Regions from separate parts of the Homo sapiens genome. Here all the other regions are linked to region 3. The links are contacts of gene promoters, found by promoter capture Hi-C in blood cells and fetal thymus (Javierre and others, 2016). All regions are on one chromosome and are shown on one strand. The core of a region is centred on a gene start or on the middle of the fragment in contact, and the rest is flanking DNA. Distances in the headings are between cores, read along the strand shown.

Region 1 (4,035 bases), core at 1,153-3,652, 220 kb before region 3:
TTAAAAATGAATCAAGGTATACTTTGCACCAAATATGCTATAACTTTGAAATATTCCATTTTGGAATACTTTATAAGCAACAGCTTAGACAGCTAAACTGATAGCTCTATTAAGAACACGCCATCACGCTAAAGGATTAAGAGTTAACATCCATATTGTCTACAGATGAACTTTCAGGATTGCTTGTGATTTCAGCACATTGTGCAAACAAAGGGGTTTCCTAACTTCCTCAGACAACTGAATCAAAAATGGAAAAGAAACTAATGACTTACTAAAGATACTCCAACACCCAAAGCAAATTTCAGTCATTAAGAATAAAGTGCATGCTAAAGGTCATGCTTTAAAGCCTGCTACCTTGGCCGGGCACGGTGGCTCACACCTATAATCCCAGCACTTTAGGAAGCTGAGGCGGGTGGATCACGAGGTCAGGAGATCGAGACCATCCTGGCCAACATAGTGAAACCCCGTCTCTACTAAAACACAAAAAATTAGCAGGGCATGGTAGTGGGTGCCTGTAATCCCAGCTACTCAAGAGGCTGAGGCAGGGGAATTGCTTGAACCCAGGAGGCAGAGATTGCAGTGAGCCAAGATCGTGCCACTGCACTCCAGCCTGGTGACAAAGCAAGACTCCGTCTCAAAAAAAAAAAAAAAAAGGCCGCCACCTTATACAAACAGCCCTTTCTAGCTTTACCAGCGTTGGTATTATAACAATAGTTGTTCAATCTGATTTCTGTATATAAGAGGGATTAAAATACAACACTCTGCCCTCATTGGGGGTAGAAGGGTGGATAAGAGGAAGGACATTGGTTTTGTCAAGACTGTTTCATACTGCTTGGTTTCTCCCAAACTACCTCCAGCTCAATAATTTTCATGCTGCAAAAATAATAATATAATAATAGCTCAATTGACAGGGACAAACTGGCTCAAACTTTATAAAGTACTAGTCAAAAAAGTCTTACCTAAGAGGCTTACTCATTTTATTTATCATATCAATGCATTAATTTATTAATCATATCAATGTATTGTTCATTTTAATTATAATAATCCAGAACAAATATACAAAGAAACACCAACATTAAAGACCATTTGAGGCTGGGTGCAGTGGCTCACGCCTGTAATCCTTTGGGAGGCCAAGGCAGGCGGATCACTTGAGGCAAGGAGTTCAAGACCAGCCTGGCCTACATGGTGAAACCCTGTCTCTAATAAAAATACAAAAATTAGCCAGGCGTGGTGGCGGGTGCCTGTAATCCCAGCTACTCGGGAGGCTGAGGCAGGAGAATCTCTTGAACCCAGAGGCAGAGGTTCCAGTGAGCTGAGATTGCACCACTGCACTCCAGCCTGGGTGAAAGAGCAAGACTCCATCTCAAAAAAAAAAAAAAAAACTTTTTAATAATAGTTTATAACATTTCTGGTAGACTACAGCTTTCCCTTATTATTTTTTTTTTGGTTTTTTTGTTGTTGTTGTTGTTTTTTGAGACAGAGTCTTGCTCTGTAGCCCAGGCTGGAGTGCAGTGGCACATCTCGGCTTACTGCAACCTCCACCTCCCATGTTCAAGCAATTCTCCTGCCTCAGTCTCTCGAGTAGCTGGGACTATAGGCTCATGCCACCATACCCGGCTAATTTTTGTATTTTTAGTAGAGACAGGATTTCACCATATTGGCCAGGCTGGTCTCGAACTCCTGACCTCATAATACGCCCGCCTCAGCCTCCCAAAGTGATGGGATTACAGGTATGAGCCACCGCGCCCAGCCTCCCTTAGTTTTACGTTTTTAAGTTTTATACATAGGCCTGATGATATTGCAATTTACTTCTTAAAATCTTCATAAGCTTTCATATTAAACTATTATAGAAACACTCTATGAGGCTGGGCTTGACACATCCCGTAACAGATTTCATCCTTGGTATGTAGTAATCTTGTATTTTTTCAAAAATGAATCTCATATACATAGTCTTATGCCCAATTTACAAACTCTGTTTCTCAAAAGAATACCAATAGATACATTGTGTCTCCCATCATCACCAGCATAATCTACAACTGAAAGACTAGTTTTTTATTTATATTTATATTATATTATATTATTATTTATTGAGACTGAGTCTCACTCTGTTGCCCAGGCTGGAGTGCAGTGACATGATTTTGGCGTACTGCAGCCTCCGCCTCCCGGGTTCAAGCAATTCTCCTGCTTCAGCCTCTTGAGTAGCTGGGACTACAGGCATAAGCCACCATGGCAGGCTAATATTTGTATTTTTAGTAGAGACGGGGTTTCACCATGTTGGCCAGGCTGGTCTCAAACTCCTGACCTCAGGTGATCCACCTGCCTCAGCCTCCCAAAGTGCTGGGATTACAGGCGTGAGTCACTGTGCCAGGCCCTATATTTATATGTTTGAGACAGGGTCTCACTCTGTCACCCAAGCTGGAGTGCAGTGGCGCAATCTCAGCTCACTGCAACCTCCACTTCCTGGGTTCAAGCAATTCTCCCGCGTCAATCTCCCAAGTAGCTAGGACTATACAGGCGCATGCCACCACACCCGGCTAATTTTTGTATATTTTGGTAGAGACAGGGTTTCACCATGTTGGCCAGGCTGGTCTCGAATTCCTGACCTCAGGCGATCCGCCTGCCTCGGCCTCCCAAAGTGCTGGGATTACAGGCATGAGCCACTGCACCTGGCCTGGAAGACTAGTTTAGAAACAGTCACTGATGAAAGTTAGAGTTAGAACCACATTGGAAATGACCATTTGGGTATTTTAATCTCATAGACACCGTTCTGAAGCTCCAGGCCCATAGTCATGGATACATGCTTCACAGTGGTGCTTAGGTCTCAGAAACTGAACATTCAGCCCCACTGGGAATTGACCCTGACACTCATTATCAGGTGTCCAGAGGAGAAAACTCTCCTAAGTAGACATCTACTTTTTAAGATTCTATGAATTGAGACGATAACATCAAGTATATACCACTCTCTCCAAAAGCTTTCTGATCCCTGAGCAGAAAGCTGACTTATATTTAGACTTATATCTCATCTTATGTTTATAATGTGTATCTGAAAATTCCAGGGTCTGAATTCTTTGTGGGTATGGTTCTGTTTATTTGTGCTGACTCTTGCTCAGGACATTCCAGTACTGTGATTTTTGCTGACAGTTCACGTTCACTGGAACTTTATGGGGATTTTTGAAGCTTGTGTTGGGGTAACCCTTCTCTCTCTGGTGAGGATTTGTGCTGACTACCATGCCCTACAAACCTAGGTCAAAGTTAAATTTGCCCCATGTAACCTTTTTAGATATGCAGGTAACTTGAACTCGGACTCCAAACTGGCATGAGGACTGGCTCTTAGCCACACATTCTCAGAAGAGACTCTTTCCTCCAACCTGAGCCAAGGCAAGATACACACATTGCTCTGCTCTCTGCTTTTTCAGATAAATATCAGTTTTTCTTTTGGGGGGGATGGAGTTTCACTCTTGTTGCCCAGGGTGGAGTGTAATGGTGTGATCTCAGCTCACCGCAACCTCTGCCTCCCGGGTTCAAGCAATTCTCCTGCCTCAGCCTCCCGAGTAGCTGGGATTACAGGCACCCACCACCACGCCCGGCCCTTTTTTTTTTTTTTTTTTTTGTATTTTTAGTAGAGACAGGGTTTCTCTCTGTTGGTCAGGATGGTCTCGAACTCCCAACCTCAGATGATCCACCCGCCTCGGCCTCCCAGAGTGCTGGGATTACAGGTGTGAGCAAATATCATTTTTTCTAATTCACCCTTTCTCTGAGGGCAAAACTCTTTATGGTTCTTGGTTTAGGGGAATCTTCATTCTAACTCCCTGGTTTGAGCCCTAAGCTTTTCTCCTGGCCTATGTGCCACCTTCTTAAAACTAGAATCCGGCCAGACATGGTGGCGCAAGCATATAATGCAAGCACTTTGGGAGGCAAAGGCAGGTGGATTACTTGAGCTCAGGAGTTTGAGACCAGCCTGGGCAACACAGTGAGACCTCATCTCTACTAAAAATCAAAAAAATTAGCTAGGCATGGTGGCACAAGTCTGTAATC
Region 2 (3,655 bases), core at 541-3,040, 180 kb before region 3:
TAGAGCAGGTACATTTTATGATACGTAAAATGGCAAATTAAATGTTAAAAAGTGTCTACATGCGGCCAGGCACGGTGGCTCATGCTGTAATCCCAGCACTTTGGGAGGCCGAGGCAGGCAGATCACAAAGTCAAGAGATTGAGACCATTCTGGCCAACATGGTGAAATCCCATCTCTACTAAAAATACAAAAATTAGCTGGGTGTGGTGGCATGTGCCTGTAGTCCCAGCTACTCGGGAGGCTGAGGCAGGAGAATCGCTTGAACCCGGGAGGCGGAGGTTGCAATGAGCGGAGATAGCACCATTGCACTCCAGCCTGGCAAAAGAGCGAGACTCCACCTCAAAAAAAAAAAAAAAAAAAAAAAAAAAAAAAAAAAAAAGTGTCTATATGCTGGCACAGAGGAGAATTAAAGGAATATTAAAAAAAAAATTCCTGCCTCTTATCTAGATTTTAAGTATCCTGTATTTATATTTAAGGAATATAAATTCCTTGAATGTTTGCTGCTGTGACGATCATCACGGTGGCCATAGCACGGAAAAGGAATGCATCTAAAAGCAAGGAACAGGAAAGCCCAAACAGCATCCTAGAAGGAGAGAACTGAAAGGTATGTTCAGTAACAGTGGCTAACTCAGAATGGCACAAGAAGAGGGGTTTAGAGAGGAGCAATAGTTGAATATAGGCCTTGGCCGGGCGCGGTGGCTCACGCCTGTAATCCCAGCACTTTGGGAGGCCAAGGCAGGCAGATCACAATGTCAGGAGATCGAGACCATCCTGGCTAACATGGTGAAACCCCATCTCTACTAAAAATACAAAAAAATTAGCCGGGCGTGGTGGTGCACACCTGTAGTCCCAGCTACTCGGGAGGCTGAGGCAGGAGAACGGCATGAACCCACGAGGCGGAGGTTGCAGTGAGCCGAGATTGCGCCACTGCACTCCAGCCTGGGCGACAGAGCAGGACTCCATCTCAAAAAAAAAAAAAAAAAAAAAAAAAATAGGCCTTGACTGAATTACGGAAGACTGTCAATGCCTTAAGCAAGCCATTTCTGCCAGGCTCCAGAAAACTCTCCACGAGTCAGTAGTATGAATAATGCTGAAAACAGGAAGACTAAAGTCTGTTTAGTGGGATGAATGGTGGCCCTCCAAAAGATAAGTCTTTGTCCTAATCCCTGGAACCTATCAATGTGACCTTATTTGGAAAAAGGTCTCTGAAGGTATAATTAGGATCCTGAGATAAGATCATCCTATATTATCTGAGTGGCCCTAAATCCAATACCAACTGTCCTCTTAAGAGAAGAGAAAATACAGACACAGAGGAGAAGGCCATGTAAAGATGGAAGAAGAGACTGGAGTTATGCAATCACAAACCACTAAATGCCTAAAGCCACCAGAACTGGAAAAGGCAAGGAAGGATTCTTCTCTATAGTCTTTGGAGGGAACGCATTGCCCCTGCTGAAACCCTGATTTCAGACTTGTTTCCCGAACTGTGAGAGAATAAATTTGTTTTAATCCATCAACTTTGTGGTCATTAATAATGGCAGCCCTGGAAAACTATACAGTTTATAAAGAATATTAGATGTCCAGATGTTCTCCAAATGAAGAATGACCAAGGAAAAGTTAGAACAAAGAGTTTACCCAATAGGTTTGATCAGATTGAGAAATGGTTTAATGGTTTCTGAATCTCCTCTCCTCGCTTGTGGAGTTTCAGAAAGAATTCACATATACGTAGAAAACTAGCCTTCCCTAAAGCAATTATTAAAATCAATTAGGTTAGCATTCATGGTATCATACATGTCTTAGTCATACACAATCACTGTCACAGGCATTCAAATATTAACACTGGACACACACACATACTCTAAAAAAATTAACCAAATATAGATTTATATTTATTTATTATTATTATTATTTGAAATGCAGTCTTGCTCTGTTGCTCAGGCTGGAGTGCAGTGGCGCGTGCAATCCCAGCTCACTGCAACCTCCGCCTCCCAGGTTCAAGCAATTCTCCTGCCTCAGCCTCCTGATTAGCTGGGACTACAGGCGCGCACCACCATACCTAGCTATTTTTTTTTTTTTGTATTTTTAGCAGAGACAGGGTTTCACCATGTTGGCCAGGCTGATCTCGAACGCTTGACCTCAGGCGATCCACCTGCCTTGGCCTCCCAAAGTGCTGGGATTACAGGTGTGAGCCACCATACCTGGCCCCAAATATAGATTTAATCCAAATTTGTGCTACAATCAATTTGGGAAGATGGTGTTATGTGTGTGTATGTAGGAAGGGCATAACAAACCTACCTTTTTTTTTCTCTCTAGTCCCAAGACTGGAGCTAAAGCTAAATATTAATGTTCTTTAACGGGGAGTCAGTCAATAAAGTAAAATAAATGAAAAACTCATAAAAGGCAACAGAAAAATGTTATTTGGAAATCTGCAGGTAAATAAATACCAGAAGAAACAATAGTTTAAAAGCTGTGTTTAAGGGCTGGGCGTGGTAGCTCACACCTGTGATCCCAGCACTTTGGGAGGCCAAGGTGGGCGGCTCACAAGGTCAAGAGTTCAAGACCAGTCTGGCCAATATGGTGAAACCCCATATCTACTAAAACTACAAAAAAATTACCTGGGAGTGGTGGCGCATGCCTGTAATCCCAGCTACTCAGGAGGCTGAGGTAGGAAAATTGCTTGAACTCGGGAGGCGGAGGTTGCAGTGAGCCAAGATCACGCCACTGCACTCTAGCCTAGGCGACAGAAAGAGACTCTGTCACAAAAACAAAACACAAAAAACAAAAAAAAACAAACAGTTGTGTTTGCCTCCTGGGAACTGACCTCAGATTAAGGGTTAGAACAAGTCACTCTAAGCCATGGAGCAGTATTCTAACCTAAATTTAATATTTATTAGGAAAATATTTTTTTGAGACAGAGTTTTGCTCTTATCACCCAGGCTGGACTGCAATGGCACAATCTCAGTTCACTGCAACCTCCACCTCCTGGGTTCAAGCAATTCTCCTGCCTCAGCTTCCCAAGTAGCTGAGATTACAGGCATGCACCACCACGCTCAGCTAATTTTTGTATTTTTAGTAGAGATGGGGTTTCACCATGTTGGCCAGGCTGGTCTCGAACTCCTGACCTCAAGTGATCCACCTGCCTCGGCCTCTCAAAGTGCTGAGATTACAGGTGTGAGCCCGGCCCTAAAATATTAATAAATATTAGTAAGTGTGGTATAATATATACTTGGTCTTTGTCCCCATGTTGCCAGTTCCTGTCATAGAGCCCCTAGAACCGGAATTTCCTGAGTGATAGGAGTATGTTTTGTTATTTATAATGAGCCCTTATATAATAAGCTCCATGACGGATACTTAGGGTGGGATCCCTAAGTAACCTCGGGATGGCGCCAGTCACTGGAAGGGTCAAAATGACTAGAGGATTAGAGAGTTGGAACTTTTAGCTCTACCCACTGACCTAAGGGAAAGGGGAGGGAGATGTAGGCTGGAGATCCTGGAGATCAAACTCTACAAAGACTTTTTTCTTCCTTTCCTTTTTCTCCCCAGCCCCCTCTATTAAGACCCTTCAACAAGATTTAATGAGCTTCCAGTTGCTGAACTGTGGAAGTGCTGGAAGGGTGGTATGCCCAGAAAGGACATGGAAGCTCTGCACCACCCCACC
Region 3 (3,850 bases), core at 320-2,819:
TTATTAAGAAAGTAAAGGAATAAAGAATGGCTACTCCATATGCAGAGCAACCCTGAGGGCAGCTGGTTGCCCATTTTTATGGTTGTTGATTATATACTAAACAAGGGGTGGATTAATTCATACCTCCACTTTTTAGACCATATACGGTAACTTCCTGACTTTGCCATGGCATTTGTAAACTGTCATGGCGCTGGTGGGAGTGTAGCAATGAGGATGACCAGAGATCACTCTCATCACCATCTCGGTTTTGGTGGATTTTAGCTGGCTTCTTTACTGCAACCCGTTTTATCAGCAAGGTCTTTATGACCTGTATCTTGTGCTGAGCTATCTCATCCTGTGACTAAGAATGCCTTAACTTACTGGGAATGCAGCCCAGGTCTTAGCCTTATTTACCTAGCCCCTATTCAAGACGGAGTTGCTCTGGTATAAATACCTCTGACATTCTCACTTATAAGTGGGAGCTAAACATTGAGCAAACATGGACCTAAACATGGAAACAACACACACTCCAGGCTACTAACTAGAGTGGGGAGGGCGGGTGGTGTGGGTTGAAAAACTATTAGGTGCAATATACCCATGTAGCAAACCTGCAACCTACCTGGGTGCAATATATCCACGTAACAAACCTGTACCTGTACCCCCATTTGTAAAATAAAAGTTGATTTTTTTTAAAGGCTTACAACGCTCCCTATGACCTGGCCCCTGCCTAACTCTTCAGTCTCATCTGTTACTCTCCCTCCAATTGTGTTTCAGCCAAACTCAACTATTCTGTTTCTCCATCAAGCTTTTGCATATATTGTTCCTTCTGCCTCTTCACGCCTCTTGACTCAGTTAAGATGCACTTTTACCCTGTTAGCTTTCAACTCGGGTTTACTTCATCCAAGGACTCTCTGACCCTCTTCGCCCCCAAACTTGGTAACGTTCTTCTGTGTGCTCCCAGAGCACACACCCTGCCATATCAGAGTTGCCTGTTTTGCTCTGTGCATTCCCCACCAGACTGCAGGCTCATTGAAATCATAGGCCACATTTTGTTCATCCACATATCGTAACCACCCTCACAGTGGCCTGGCACGCAATAGACACTCAATACTCTTTCTTGAACGAATAGAAGATAGGAGATTTAAGCACCTGGAAGAGAAATTTTGAGCAGCAGAGACACTGGGAGGCAGCCATTTCAGACGAGGTGAAAAAAGGTTCAAAACCTTCTGCGTCAGGAGCATGCGAGACACAGTCCAACCTCTTCCTTGGCCTCAGCCCCGCCCCGTTTCTTTCACCCAGAACTCGCCTCACCCCCCTGCGCTAGTGACTGCTTGTGACCTCATGCAGGTGTGATGAAGTCGCTCAAGGCCATGCTTGGGCTAAAGACACTTTGATCTTCCCGAGGGGGTGAAAGGGCGAGGTGACAGGAAAGTGCGCGTCTTGCTTTTGCACTCATAGTTATCATCCACCGGGGAGTCGGTACACCGGCTCGTCTAGACAACCAGGCGCCATGGGTGCGTCATCAACTAGTGACGGGAGAAGACGGGGCGGAGAGAGATCCGTGAAGGAAGTGACGTAAAACGAGCGCCACAGAGAACGCGAGCCGGGAGTCCGTGGAGGCCATGGCCCCTCGGCGCCTCCTGTTGGTTGGGGAGGGGAATTTCTCCTTCGCCGCCGCTCTGAGCGAAACCCTGGATCAGAGCACTCAACTTACCGCCACCTGCCTCCAGCGCCCGGCCGAGTTGGCTCGGGATCCACTGGCCTGGGAGAATCTGCAGTGCCTGCGCGAGCGAGGTAGCGAGCCCGCCCCTCTGCGAAACCCCGCCCAGCGGCCGGCGCGTCCCAAAGTGGAAAGGGTGGGGGCGTGGGGATGTAACCCACGTGGAGATTGTTCTTGATCGTCCCACGGATATTCACATAAAGCCGGCTTTGTGCCCAGACTTGGGCTGGTCTGCACGGTTTAAGTTAGGAAGAGTTTTTCTGTTCCATGTCTTGAGGCATCCTCCTGTCTATATTTTGCGCCCCCAAACTATCTTTGCCAGGTATCGATGTACGTTTCGGTGTGGACTGCACCCAGCTGGCAGATGTCTTTGAACTGCACGAGAGAGAATTTGATCAAATTTATTTCATCTTCCCGCATTGTGGACGCAAAGCTGGCGTAGCTAAGAACAGGGAACTGCTTGCCAAATTTTTCCAAAGGTGAGGAAAGGAGCGCCCTCACAAGGAAAATGTTTAAGATGTCCATAACATAGTTACTGTACCCAAACATAAGGCACACGTGCAAGCTACTATGATATGTTTAGAAGAGACTATAAAGCCCCAAAGGAACCCCAAGTTTAGTTGGAAAGACAGATATATAAACCCTAAATGCTAAATGAAAGTACAAATAATGTACTCTTGGGTGTGTAAAAGAGGATCATTTATTTTTGACAGTGCAAAATAATGAGAGCCATATAGTCTAATGGCTAAGAACGTGCACTTAGAAGCCAGACTGCCTGGATTCAAATCCCAGCCCACCACTTAACAGTTGTTATTTTTTTATTTTTATTTATTTTTATTTTTTGAGACAGAGTCTCGCCCTGTCGCCCAGGCTGGAGTGCAGTGGTGTGGTGCAATCTCGGCTCACTGCAAGCTCCGCCTACTGGGTTCACGCCATTCTCCTGCCTCAGCCTCCCAAGTAGCTGGGAGTACAGGCGCCCGCCACCACGCCCAGCTAATTTTTTGTATTTTTAGTAGAGATGGGGTTTCACCGTGTTAGCCAGGATGGTGTCGATCTCCTGACCTTGTGATCCGCCTGCCTTGGCCTCCTAAAGTGCTGGGATTACAGGCATGAGCCACCACGCCCGGCCAACAGTTGTTATTTTAAGCAAGCTTACTTAATCTTTACATGCTTCCGTTTCCTCAACTGTAAACTAGGGATATTAATAGTAACTAACTGGGCCAGGCGTGGTGGCTCATGCCTGTAATCCCAGCAGTTTGGGAGGCCGAGGTGAGCAGATCACCTGAGGTCAGGAGTTTGAGACCAGCCTGGCCAAAGTGGCAAAACCCCGCCTCTACTAAAAATATAAAAATTAGCTGGCCGTGCTGGCACGTGCCTGTAGTCCCAGGTACTTGGGAGGCTGAGGCAGGAGAATCGCTTGAACTTGGGAGGTGGAGGTTGCAGTGAGCTGAGATCGTGCCACTGCACTCCAGCCTGGGCGACAGAGCAAGACTCCATCTCAAAAAAAAAAAAAAAAAAAAAAGTAACTAACAGCCTCATAAAATTATTGTGAACTGAAAACAGTGCTTTACATGATTATACCACAAGACATGATACTATTGGAGGTGTCCGATGGGGCATAGCTGTCAATAAAGTTTTGACAGAGGTGGTATTTTAAACTAGTATTTGAATTTCAGGAGGGCAGTGAAAAGAACTTTCTAAATGGGAAGAAACAGCCTAAGCAATGAATCATATATAGGAACTGTGCAGATATTGATCTTTCTGTGACATATGCATGAATGACACAAATGCAAAGCAGACCCTGGTCAGCCAATCTTATCAGTGAGTGGGTTGAACATTTAATTTATGCTTCTATTTACTTCCAGCTACTTTCTTTGCATTTTTTGAGGTCTAATAGATTTTTGCACATAGGTATGATTGGATTTTAATTATTTCACAGGCAAACCATGTGTATGTTGCCAACTCCTGTGGTAATTTCTGCTTGTTTATGATAATTAGTTAGTGTTTCTTTTCTCCCTATTAGCTGTGCAGACGTTCTTGCAGAGGAAGGAGAAGTCCACGTGGCATTATGTAGAGGACAAGGTGGAACTCCTGCGGATAAGCCCCAGAGAGAATGGCACAACAGTTGGCAAGTGGTTGCCATGGCAGCCC

The links. The method cuts DNA at HindIII sites, captures the fragments that hold promoters and counts their contacts. A CHiCAGO score of 5 or more calls a contact.
Region 1: a fragment that was not itself captured here is called in contact with the fragment with the promoter of FDXACB1 in region 3 in 2 of 17 cell types (erythroblasts and naive CD8 T cells); the score reaches 5.6 in erythroblasts.
Region 2: a contact is called between a fragment that was not itself captured here and the fragment with the promoter of FDXACB1 in region 3, in 3 of 17 cell types (erythroblasts, naive B cells and total B cells). The highest score is 6.5, in erythroblasts.

The regions. Positions count from the first base shown.
Region 1 is chr11:112,099,844-112,103,878 of GRCh38, reverse strand. No RefSeq gene overlaps it. Among named protein-coding and RNA genes, the nearest start is that of SDHD, 15 kb to the right of the region's middle. RefSeq lists a silencer at 3,900-4,035. The HindIII fragment of the contact is 1,144 bases long and covers 1,831-2,974 here.
Region 2 is chr11:112,052,573-112,056,227 of GRCh38, reverse strand. All of the region lies in intron 11 of DLAT (dihydrolipoamide S-acetyltransferase), which reads right to left. It also overlaps a transcript of PIH1D2 not described here. Among named protein-coding and RNA genes, the nearest start is that of PIH1D2, 20 kb to the left of the region's middle. The HindIII fragment of the contact is 6,314 bases long and covers 1-3,655 here.
Region 3 is chr11:111,876,884-111,880,733 of GRCh38, reverse strand. FDXACB1 (ferredoxin-fold anticodon binding domain containing 1) reads left to right here and starts at 1,569. Exons shown (of 5, transcript NM_138378.3): 1 at 1,569-1,773; 2 at 2,022-2,178; 3 at 3,723-3,850. The coding sequence starts at 1,602. It overlaps CFAP68 (cilia and flagella associated protein 68), which reads right to left and starts at 1,193. Exons shown (of 4, transcript NM_022761.3): 1 at 1,129-1,193. The coding sequence starts at 1,173. RefSeq lists enhancers at 1,316-1,785, 1,282-1,901. The HindIII fragment of the contact is 2,066 bases long and covers 787-2,852 here.